Linked DNA regions of Homo sapiens: all the other regions are linked to region 3. Evidence: promoter capture Hi-C in human tissues and cell types (Jung and others, 2019). All regions are on one chromosome and are shown on one strand. Each heading gives the region's core, a stretch centred on a gene start or on the middle of the fragment in contact. The rest is flanking DNA. Distances are from core to core; before and after follow the strand shown. Region 1 overlaps LINC01838 (long intergenic non-protein coding RNA 1838). Region 2 has its middle 46 kb from the start of WTIP. Region 3 holds the start of ZNF181 (zinc finger protein 181). Region 4 has its middle 71 kb from the start of WTIP.

What was found. The method cuts DNA at HindIII sites, captures the fragments that hold promoters and counts their contacts. A contact is called where the count stands out against the background at its distance.
Region 1: a fragment that was not itself captured here is called in contact with the fragment with the promoter of ZNF181 in region 3 in 2 of the 25 tissues and cell types used here (liver and mesenchymal stem cells).
Region 2: a contact is called between a fragment that was not itself captured here and the fragment with the promoter of ZNF181 in region 3, in 1 of the 25 tissues and cell types used here (mesendoderm cells).
Region 4: a contact is called between a fragment that was not itself captured here and the fragment with the promoter of ZNF181 in region 3, in 2 of the 25 tissues and cell types used here (mesendoderm cells and thymus).

What each region holds. Positions count from the first base shown.
Region 1 is chr19:34,905,851-34,908,550 of GRCh38, reverse strand. It overlaps LINC01838 (long intergenic non-protein coding RNA 1838), which reads right to left. Exons shown (of 2, transcript NR_146451.1): 1 at 2,327-2,700; 2 at 360-1,109. Among named protein-coding and RNA genes, the nearest start is that of LINC01838, 1.9 kb to the right of the region's middle. RefSeq lists an enhancer at 2,684-2,700. The HindIII fragment of the contact is 3,568 bases long and covers 1-2,700 here.
Region 2 is chr19:34,526,836-34,529,535 of GRCh38, reverse strand. No RefSeq gene overlaps it. Among named protein-coding and RNA genes, the nearest start is that of WTIP, 46 kb to the right of the region's middle. The HindIII fragment of the contact is 3,863 bases long and covers 1-2,700 here.
Region 3 is chr19:34,732,840-34,735,539 of GRCh38, reverse strand. It overlaps ZNF181 (zinc finger protein 181), which reads right to left and starts at 1,297. Exons shown (of 4, transcript NM_001029997.4): 1 at 494-1,297. The coding sequence starts at 502. RefSeq lists silencers at 1,055-1,114, 1,215-1,264 and enhancers at 1,545-1,934, 1,655-2,172, 2,390-2,449. The HindIII fragment of the contact is 5,149 bases long and covers 1-2,700 here.
Region 4 is chr19:34,551,860-34,554,559 of GRCh38, reverse strand. It overlaps the pseudogene ZNF807P. Among named protein-coding and RNA genes, the nearest start is that of WTIP, 71 kb to the right of the region's middle. The HindIII fragment of the contact is 5,625 bases long and covers 1-2,700 here.

The DNA of each region.
Region 1 (2,700 bases), core at 201-2,700, 170 kb before region 3:
GACAGGAATACAGGGACTTTTAAACACACATTTGCACCTGCAACAGATGTGCTACACCCAGTTGAACCCCAGGCACTCTGACTGAGGTCATAAGCTTTGTATTGAAGTCATCTGTCTCCAACCAGAGGTATGGCACTATCCTCTCTGATAGCAAATCAAGAGCACAGTGCTGGCATCTGGTGAAGACCTTCTTGCTATGTCGTTACATGGTGGAGCACATCACATGGCAAGAGCAAGAGCCTGTCAGCTCAGGTGTCTCTTCCTTTTACCAGTCCCATCATAGGGGTCCACCCTGATGACTTTATCTAATCCTCATTACCTCCCAAAGGCCCCCACCTTCAAACATATTTACATATGAATTTGGGGATTGAGTTTTTAATACACGAAATTTGGTTGACACATTCAAACCATAGCAGATGCCAAAGGTGGACATGGGGGAGTCAAATTCCCAAAAGCTGCCTGAGTGGTGCTGTCATTGGGTTCCAGGGCTGCAGTAGAGGTTAAGTAGGAAGGATTTCTGGGGGCTGCCAGGTTCTTCAAAGGGAAACAGCTGTTAACATTGCAGGGAGAGACAGGAAGATAACAGATGGGGAAATGGGCATGGTATCCATGTTGATTTCATCAGAGTAAAAGGCAGGCTTGGATGCCAAGTCTGAAGAGGGTCTGCTTACTATAGTGGAGGTGACTGCAGAAGCAGTGGTAGGTGGGCCAGAAAAGACAGGGCATTGAAGAGAGTGGTTTCCTGTTGATGCCTGTCTGGAACCCTAGATTTCAGGTGATAGGTGTTTCTTGGGTCAAAAGGCAATGTTGGAAATTCAGGTAGGGCTGTTGACCATAAAAGCAGGTGGGCTGGTGGAGACTGTGTTCTTTACAAGGGATATCTGCTCCATACTGGGATGGAACTGGTCAAATGGGAGGATACTCATCCTGGATCCTATGGGAGACCAGGAGATGAAAACCTGTGAAAAGGGATTGGTATCCATGCAGTTTATACCAAAGTACAAAGTAGGCTTGAGGTTGAGTCTGCAGATTACTGGCTGTGATAGTGAAAATGCTTGAGGCACCAGTGATGGGCCGGTCTATGAAGATGGGCATACAGGTGGAAGAGTCTGTAAGAAAAAGGGAGAAAAATCCACAATGACTCAATTCTGATTAGATGACTAGATAGATTCTGATTAGATTACTAAACTGATAGATGACTCAATTCTGCAGGAGGTAGACTTGAAGCAAAGGCCAAGGGGTTAGGAGATGTGGTGAGGTCAAAAGTAGAGATCTAGGCCAGGCGTGGTGGCTCACACCTGTAATCTCAGCACTTTGGGAGGCCGAGGCAGGCAGATAACGAGGTCAGGAGATAGAGACCATCCTGGCCAACATGGTGAAGCCTCGTCTCTACTAAAAATACAAAAATTAGCTGGGCATGGTGGCACATGCCTGTAGTCCCAGCTGCTCTGGAGGCTGAGGCAGGAGAATCACTTGAACCCGGGAGGTGGAGGTTGCAGTGAGCCAAGTTCGCACCACTGCACTCCAGCCTGGTGACAGTGCGAGACTCCGTCTCAAAAAAAAAAAAAAAAAAAAAAGTAGAGATCTGGGCTGGGTATGGTGGCTTACATCTGTAATCCCAGCACTTTTGAGAGGCTGATGCAGAAGGATCACTCAAAAGCAGGAGTTCCAGACCAGCCTGGGCAACATAGCAAGACTCCATCTCTAGAAGAAAAAAATGCCTGTAGTCCTAGCTGCTCTGGAGGCCGAGGTGGGAGGATTGCTTGAGCCCAGGAGTTTTAGGCGGCAGTGAGCCATGATTGCACCACTACGTTACAACCTGGGTGACAGAGCAGGACCCTGCCCCACCACCCCCCAAAAAAATCTGCAGATGAGGGACTGAAATGGAAATGGCTTTTATTCCCATAAAGGGGAACTCCCAAAATGATATTGAACCTAAGGGGAGAAACAACAAGAATAGGAAAAAAAAAAAAAGGAGAGTTAGGATATGGGCATTTCATTTAATGATCTGTATATGGGGTGAGGACTGGTACAGGGGCAGAAGGGACTGGGGGCCTGGAAGACAGGACAGCCAAGTCAGTGGCTGGTAACATGGTAGTATCAGCAAACTACAAGGTGAAAATGGCCAAGGGTGGGGTGCCTGCCATCTCTGCAACAAGCAGGAAGAAAGAAGGGGCAGGCTGAGGGGCACTGCACTGCTATCTGAAGGGGCCTTGGCTTTATCTTCTAAGAACATGTGGTTAGACTGGGGCTCTGCTTTCTTCTTCAAGCCTACATCTTCTCCAACGACTATACAAAAAAGCTTAGGAGAGTTTGGGCAGCTCACCTTGACCTCAAAAAATAGCAGCGGCAGTGGCAGCAGCGGGCGAGTTGGAACTTTGTTTACAGAGTCTACAACTGGCAGACGTGGGTTGAGAGTTCCTGTTTGAAACCCTTCCTCCCTGCATCTTCTCTGTCTTCAGAGAGAACTGGACCTCCAGAGAGGCAGGAATCCCCTAGCAGCACTGCCTGAGCTGGTGATGGCATGGCCTTTGATGAATGAGCTCATACAATATCTCTTCACTTTCTCATCTAAGGCGTCTTCTGGGGGTTGGAGTGGAGGTTTCCCTTCAATGGCCCGGGTAGGATTTCGTTGTCTTGGGGGTAGATCTGAAGACTCACTCCCACTGCGATGGGTGGGGGTAAGGGAGCTTCTCTGAT
Region 2 (2,700 bases), core at 30-2,529, 210 kb after region 3:
GTGGAAGACCTCCACCAAAAAAACTATAAAATACTGAGGAAACCAATTGAAGAGGACACTAAAACATGAAAAGATATTCCATGCTCATAATTGGAAGGATCACTATTGTGAAAATGACCATGTTGCCAAAAATGATCTGCAGATTCAATGCAATCCCTATCAAAATATCAATGATATTGTCACAGAAATATAAAAAATAATCCTGAAATTTATATGAAACCACAAACGACTCTGAGCATCCAAAGCAATCCTGAGCAAAAAGAACAAAGCTGGAGGCATAGCATGACTTGACTTAAAAATAGGCTACAAAGTTAGAGTAAACAAAACAGCATAGTACTGGCATAAAAACAGACACACAGACCAGTGAAACTAAATAGACAACTCAGAAGTACGTCCAAGCATTTACAACCAACTGATTTTCAACAAAGGCAGCAAGAACATTTATTGGTTCTTTACATTTCCTGGAAGAGCTTTGTACTTTTCCCTATTCACTATGATGTTGGCTGTGGGTTTGCCATACACTGATTTATTGTACTGGGCTACATTCCTTCTATACCCAGCTTCTTAAGAGTTTTTACTATAAAGGGCTGTTGAATTTTATCACGCTTTTTCTGCACCTACTGAGATAATCATATGGTTCTTGTACTCATTCTGTTGATGTGATGTGTTACATGTATTGATTTGAAACAAGGCAAGAACGTCCATTATCACCACTTTTATTTATTTATTTATTTATTTTTGAGATGGAGTCTCGCTCTGTCACCCAGGCTGGAGTGCAGTGGCACGATCTCGGCGCACTGCAACCTCCGCCTCCCGGGTTCAAGCGATTCTCCTGCCTCAGCCTCCAGAGTAGCTGGGATTACAGGCATGTGCCACCACACCCAGCTAATTTTTTGTATTTTTAGTAGAGACGGGGTTTCACCATGTTAGCCAGGATGATCTCAATCACCTAACATCGTGATCTGCCTGCCTTGGCCTCCCAAAGTGCTGGGATTACAGGCATGAGCCACCGTGCCTGGCCTGTCACCACTTTTATTTGACATAGTACTGGAAGTCCTAGCTAGAGCAATTAGGCAAGAGAAAAAAAAACTTGAATGAATGATGCCTGGAACATTAAATATCTGTATGCCGAAAAATGAAACTAGACCCCTATATCTCACCATATTAATAAAATCAACTCAAAATAGCTTACAGACTTAAATTAAGAGCTGAAACTATGGAACTACTCGAAGAAAGCAGGGGAAATGCTTCAAGACATTGATCTGGGCAAAGATTTTGTGGTGAAGAACTTGAAAGCACAGGAAACAAAAGCAAAAATAGGCTAATTGGATTACATTAAACTAAAAAGCTCCTGCACAGCAAAGAAAACAATCAACAGAGACAAGAGACAACTTGCAGAATGGGAAGAAAACTGCAAACTATTCATTCAACAAGGGATTAATATCCACAATATATGAGAAACTTGAACAATTCAATGTCAAAAAAAATACAAATAATCTGATGTAAAAATGGACAACTTGGCCAGGTGCAGTGGCTCATGCCTGTAATCCCAGCACTTTGGGAGGCTCAGGTGGATGGATCACCTGAGGTCAGGAGTTCAAGACCAGCCTGGCCAACATGGTGAAACCATGCCTCTACTAAAAATATAAAATTAGCTGGGCGTGGTGGCCCGTGCCTGTAATCCCAGCTACTCGGGAGGCTGAGGCAGGAGAATCACTTGAACCTGGGAGGCAGAGGTTGCAGTGAGCCAAGATTGCACCATTGCACTCCAGCCTGGGCAACAAGAGTGAAACTCTATCTCAAAAAAAAAAAAGAAAAAGAAATGGACAAATTAGCTGAATAAACATCTCTCAAAAGATGACATACATATGGCCAACTAATATTTTTAAAATGCTCAACATCACTTATCATACAGGATATGCACATCAAAATCACATTCAGATATCATCTCATCCCAGTTAAAATGGCTACTATGACAAAGACAAAAGATACCAAATGCTAGTGAGAAAGCAAAGAAAAGAGAACTCTTGTATGCTGTTTGTGGGAACGTAAATTATTACAGCCATGAGGAAAAACACTATGGGGGGTTCCTCAAAAAACTAAAAATAGATTTACCATATATGGTCAAGCAATCCCATTACTGGGTACACATCCAGACAAAAGGAAGTCAGTATATCAAAGAGGTATCTGCACTCTCATGTTTATTGCAACACTGTTCACAATGGACAAAACATGGAATCAACCTAAGTGTCCATGAACATGTGAACAAATGAAGAACATATGGTATAAATACACAATGGAATATGATCTAGCTATGAAAAAGAATAAAATGCTGTCATTTGCAGCAACATAAATGAGCTTGGAGTCATTGTGTTAAGCAAAAGAAGCCAAGACACAGAAAGATAAATACTGTATGTTCTCACTCACATGTGGAAGGTTAAAAAGTTGCTCTCATAGAAGGAGAGTGTAGACTAAGGGTTACTTGAGGCAAGAAAGAGTTGGGGGAGGTGGGAATATAGCCAAAGATTGATGGATGGATACAAAAGTGCAGCTAGATAGGAGGAATAAGTTCTAGTGTTCTATAGGATTGTAGGGTGACTGTATTACACAATTTACTGTATATATATATATATTTTTTTTGAGATGAAGTCTCGCTCTGTCGCCCAGGCTGGAGTGCAGTGGCACAATCTCAGCTCACTG
Region 3 (2,700 bases), core at 48-2,547:
GCAATAATCCAGGTGGCTTTATTGCTATCACTACCGGGGTGGTAGTGGTGGTGGTAGTGCTGGGGTAACTAATGGTCAGATTCTGTATACAGTGTATAGCTTAGCTCCAACTAGAGGATCTGAATATAGGTATAAGTCAAAGGGAAGAATCAAGGATGACTGCAAGCATCTCTTCACTTGAGACCACATGGTACAGTTTTGACAACCATAAACCGAATAACCTTACATTCCAAAGTTGCATTGTGAATTACAGTTTTAAAATGTTGGCAAGACTAGAAAGTCTTCTAGCAGAAAACTGTAGAAAAGAGGAACACTGGGTGAGGAGGATAATACCTTGGAGCTCTCCTGTGGGCTCCGTCCTTCCTATACTGAAAGGAACCATGGATCCAGTCCCTTAAATGGACTTGGTTAGGTGGGAACAGGCAGGAGAAGCAAAGCAAACACACAGTCCTGATAAAGTGTTTCAGGAAGATTTGCGGACACACCGACCTACCTGAGGCATTACTCTGCAATTTCCAACAGCCAACAGAGTCCTCTTTCCAGGCTCTTATCTTAGAGATGGGCAGTGTCCTGAGGGCACAGAAGGGCAGGAAAAAGCAGTCATGAAAAATCAGGCTTATCTTGCGGCACCTGTGACACACCATAATGGAAAGGCACACTGGTAATCACTCTCCAGGGCGCCAATCTCTCCCTGGGAACTAACAGGGTGTTTCTCCGCAAGGGCTAACCATTTACCAGGTGCCACCTGCGAGGAAAATCAATTACTCTGTAAATAAAATCCTCATAAAACAATGGTAAAAACTTTATCAGCTCGTTCAGTCTTCACCACTATGCACGGTGTGCGTTCACATTTTTCCAGATCTATTTTTTAAACGATGACAAAACTGAAATTCCAAGATACTGAACCCATTTGTTCAAGGTTACACAACTGTAGAGCGCCGGCTTCATGACGACATAACCCAAAGACAACTGTGGCTGGCGTCTAACCACGCGCCCACTTCACTCTCACAACAGCGCCAAGAGGTCGGCGCCGTCATCACCCCGCGTTTACATAGGAGGACATGAAGGCCAGGAAAACCAAGGCACCGGCCGGGGTCACACCGCGGGGCAGACCCAGGGCCTGAGCCCCGCCGCCGCCCCCGGGACTCATACTGGCCGGAGTCCTCAGCAGGGCCTCACCGTCCCCGCAGGCGCCCCGCGTCGCTGGTGAGCGGGCAACGGCCGCCGACCTCTGGGGACGACACTGCCCAGAATCGTCCCGGAGCCTGGGAGTCGCCGTCAGGCCTGAGGCTACAGCGGGGCGGACCCAGTGCGCCGCCCACAGCCGATCGACATTTCCCAGAATCATCCGCGCAGGGGACAAAATTCCAGGCGCAACGAACCGCAGGTACCGGAAGACCACACTTCCCAGGAGTCTCTGCGGCCGCGCGGACCTGGGGCGCCGCGGGCAAACAGATCTCGGTTTCCTAAAAAACTAAACCGCCTGGGGCTGTCGTCCCAGAGCCCGGCAGTTAGGACCATGCGGGAAGTGTCCTGGGGCATATAGTCATACTGATGAGGTGAAAGATACACCTCGGAACCAAGGGCCACCCTCTACTTTTAAGGACAATGGCGCCGGGACCAAGAAACTACACTTCCCAGAAAACCGTGCGGCCGTGGCAAACTCTTCTGGGTCTAGCGTGCGCTCACACTAATGTTTATCTCCCGGGACGTGGGCAGACCTTGTACCAGGCGAGCTCTCGCCTTTGCTAGCAAAAGAGCTCCTCTCTTCCCAAACCCTGCTACTACGCTGTCCACCCTGTATGGTCTTTGAGGTCTTTGAGGTTTTTTTGGAATTCACTTGCTGGAGACTACAGCTCACAGAACGCCCTGGGCTGGATTGTGCCAGCTGTAGTTCGCGAACCAAGGACATTTCCTGGAAATGCATGCGGCCACGTATCTGTGACAGAAATGGCAGTTCTCACGTGCGTTACGCCCCCTGGAAGGACTTGGAAATACGGAACTTGAGTGAGCACTGAGAGGACACAGACCCTCATCCTGGGAGGAGTCACTCCTCCCGCAGCCATCAGAGCCTGACAACCGCTTCTCACCAGAGGCGCTTCTTAGACCCTGACCTTGCCCGGCTCACCCAAAGGGGCAATGGCCTTCTTTGTATGCAAGCCAGACAGTCTACTGTTGTATATTTGAATTTTTTACTTTATTTTTAATATTTTAATTAAATTTTAATTTAATGCTGCCTCTACCTCTGAGAGAGACAGGGAGAGATGGGGGAGGCCTGGAGTGGGGGCCCTGCGGGGCAGGGACAGGGGACCCTTCCTCACTTTGCACAATCTGGGAACCCTCCCCAAGCGGAACAGCCAGCTGCAGTGGAAAAGCACTGGCTTAGTGGGCTTCGTCCTGGGGACGAAGGCTGGGAGACTGCAGCTGAAAGGTGTGGGCTCCAGGAGGGCCGCAGGGGGCCTAGCAGCAGCGTCAGGGAGCAGAAGTCCGCCCTCCCTCCATCTTCCTTCCTTCTCTGGCCGCCAGAGCGCTCTGTCTCCCTCCCACGCCCACAGCTACAGGTGGAGCCGGCTTGGGGCGGGGGGGGGGTCCTCCTAGGGCGAAGAGGGCCAGGAGCCTTCCTGAGGACCTGAGGCTCCTCTGGGCCTCCCAGGGCTGGGCCTGTGATCTGATCTGCTTTGCCCTGGGAGGGACGTGCTC
Region 4 (2,700 bases), core at 38-2,537, 180 kb after region 3:
CAATGGTATTATGTCATGTCATAGGGATTAAGGCTTTATATCCCGGGATTTGATGTTGGAACTATGTTCACCATCCAAAAAAAATCCTCGTCTCATGGAGCCCTCCTAAGCCAATCAGGCCTTTAACTGATTTAGATGACCTTATGTTCCCAAAACATCCAGACAAGGTTGATTTAACTGTCCCACTGCCATTCCTGGTCCCCAAACCTCACCTGCAATGACAGCACCTCCAACCCAGCCTGATGTCCATTCTAGGTGGGGTACATCACCTCCTCAATCTCACCCAGCCTAAACTAGCCCAAGATTGTTGGTTGTGCCTAAAGGACAAACCCCCATATTATATTGGATTAGGAGTAGAAGCCGCACTTAAAATTGGCTCTCTTTCTTGTTGTACATGCCCCCATGCCCTCCCATTAGGAGATACGTCTGGAAACACTTCTTGTCTAATTAGCACCGGATATAACTTATCTGCTTCTCCCTTTCAGGCTACCTGTAATCAGTCTATGCTTACCTCCTTAAGCACCTCAGTCTCCTACCAGGCACCTAACAATACCTGGTTAGCCTGCACTTCAGGTCTCACTTGCCACATCAATGGAACTAAACCAGGACCTCTCCTGTGTGTGTTGGTTCATGTACTCCCCCAGGTCTACGTGTATAGTGGGCCAGAAGGATAACTTCTTATTGCTCCCCCTGAATTACATCCCAGGTTTTGCCGAGCCACCCCACTCCTTGTACCCCTCCTGGCTGGCCTTAGCATAGCTGGATCAGCAGCCATCAGCATGGCTGCCCTGGTTCAGGGAGAAACTGGACTAATGTCCCTGTCTCAACAAGTAGATGCTGATTTAAGCAATCTCCAATCAGCCATAAATATACTACATACCCAAGTAAAATCTCTAGCTGAAGTAGTTCTTCAAAACCGCCGAGGCTTAGATCTGCTATTTCTCTCCCAAGGAGGGTTATGTGCCACTCTAGGAGAGAGTTGTTGCTTCTGTGCCAATCAGTCTGGAGTCATAAAAGATACTCTCCAAAAAGTTTGAGAAAACCTAGACAGGCACCAGCAAGAACGAGAAAATAACACCCCCTGGTACCAAAGCATGTTTAACTGGAATCCATTGCTAACTACTCTAATCACTGGGTTAGCTGGACCCTTTCTCCCCTATTGTTAGGCTTAGTCTTTGAGCCTTGTATGTTAAATTGGTTTCTTAATTTTGTAAAACAACATATAGCTTCTGTCAAGCTTATGTACCTTAAAACCCAATATAACCCCCTGGTTATAACCGAGGAATCAATGGTTTGATTCCCCAAAAACACAAGTGGGGAATGTGATACCCAACCTTGTTTTAACCTGAATTGACTCTCCCTTAGCTGAGAGAGCCAGACAGACTCCATCTTGGCTCCTTCACTTACAGCCCCTTACCCACTCCCTTCCTCAAGGACTTGACTTGACTTGTGCAAGCAGATTCCCAACACATCCAAGGATGCAATTAACTGATAAGATACTGTGGAAAGCTATATCCGCAGTTCCTAGGAATTCATCTGGTTGATAACACCCAAAGCCCCGCATCTGTCACCCTGTGATAGATTTAAAGCCCCTGCACCTGGAACTGTTTGCTTTCCTGTAACCATTTATCCTTATAACTTTTTGCCTGCTTTACTTCTGTAAGATTGTTTTAACTAGACTCCCCCCCTCTCCTTTCTAAACCAAAGTAAAAAAGAAAATCTAGCCCCTTCTTTGGGGCCTAGAGAATTTTGAGCACTAGCCATCTCTCAGTCGCTGGCTAATAAAGGACACCTGAATTCGTCTCAGAGTGTGGTGTTTCTCTGTAACTCACTAGGTTACAACACGTGAGCCCTACAATTATTCCTGCTTACAGTGTAGAAGAAAAATAAGTATATATGGTGACCACCATGGGTATAATTTAGGTGGGATAATAGGAGAGAGGAGAGAGGCAAAGATTTGCAGAAGTATCCATGTAAATCTTTGGCTAAGTCCCGATCTGCACAAGCATGACCAGACACTACCTGAGGTTTAGAAAGGAACCCCTACAAAGCAATATCCCAAACAATTATTTGAGCTCATCCAGGGCTGGGAATTGTATGTTCACCTGCCAGTGTGGAACACCTATTAGTACAGAAAACACCAGATAGAAAGGTATCACCTAAAGAACGGGGCTGACAGACTCAAGGCTGCTCTGGTCTTATACTAAAAAAGTTTAAAACAGAAAGACCTAGTGCCAAGCAGGCAAGAGGAAATCATGCTGCTAAGTAATTTTATTGAATGGCATACCAAGGTCCAACATTGTTTAAAGCAATACAAACAAATACAACATTCAATAATGTAAAATTCAGTATCTGGCATCCAATAAAGAATAACCATGCACACAAAGAAGTAGTGACATAAAAATCATTAACCAGAAGAGTGAATTGAGAAGCACAAAAATGATGAAAATGATGAAATTAGTGGACAAATATGCTGTAAAGCTTTTATAACTATCCAACATTTGTTTTGACAAAAGAATGGGGGAAATAAAACTTGATAATGAGAAATAGTACATATATATATATTTGTGGTTTCCACTCCAACATCTAAAGAGCTTGTTACTCCCGTCCTCAAAACAACAAAAAGTTGAACAAACTGAAAATCAGTAACTCTTCTTAGATCCATCAGAGTATCGAGGCCATAGGGCAAAGCAATGCCCC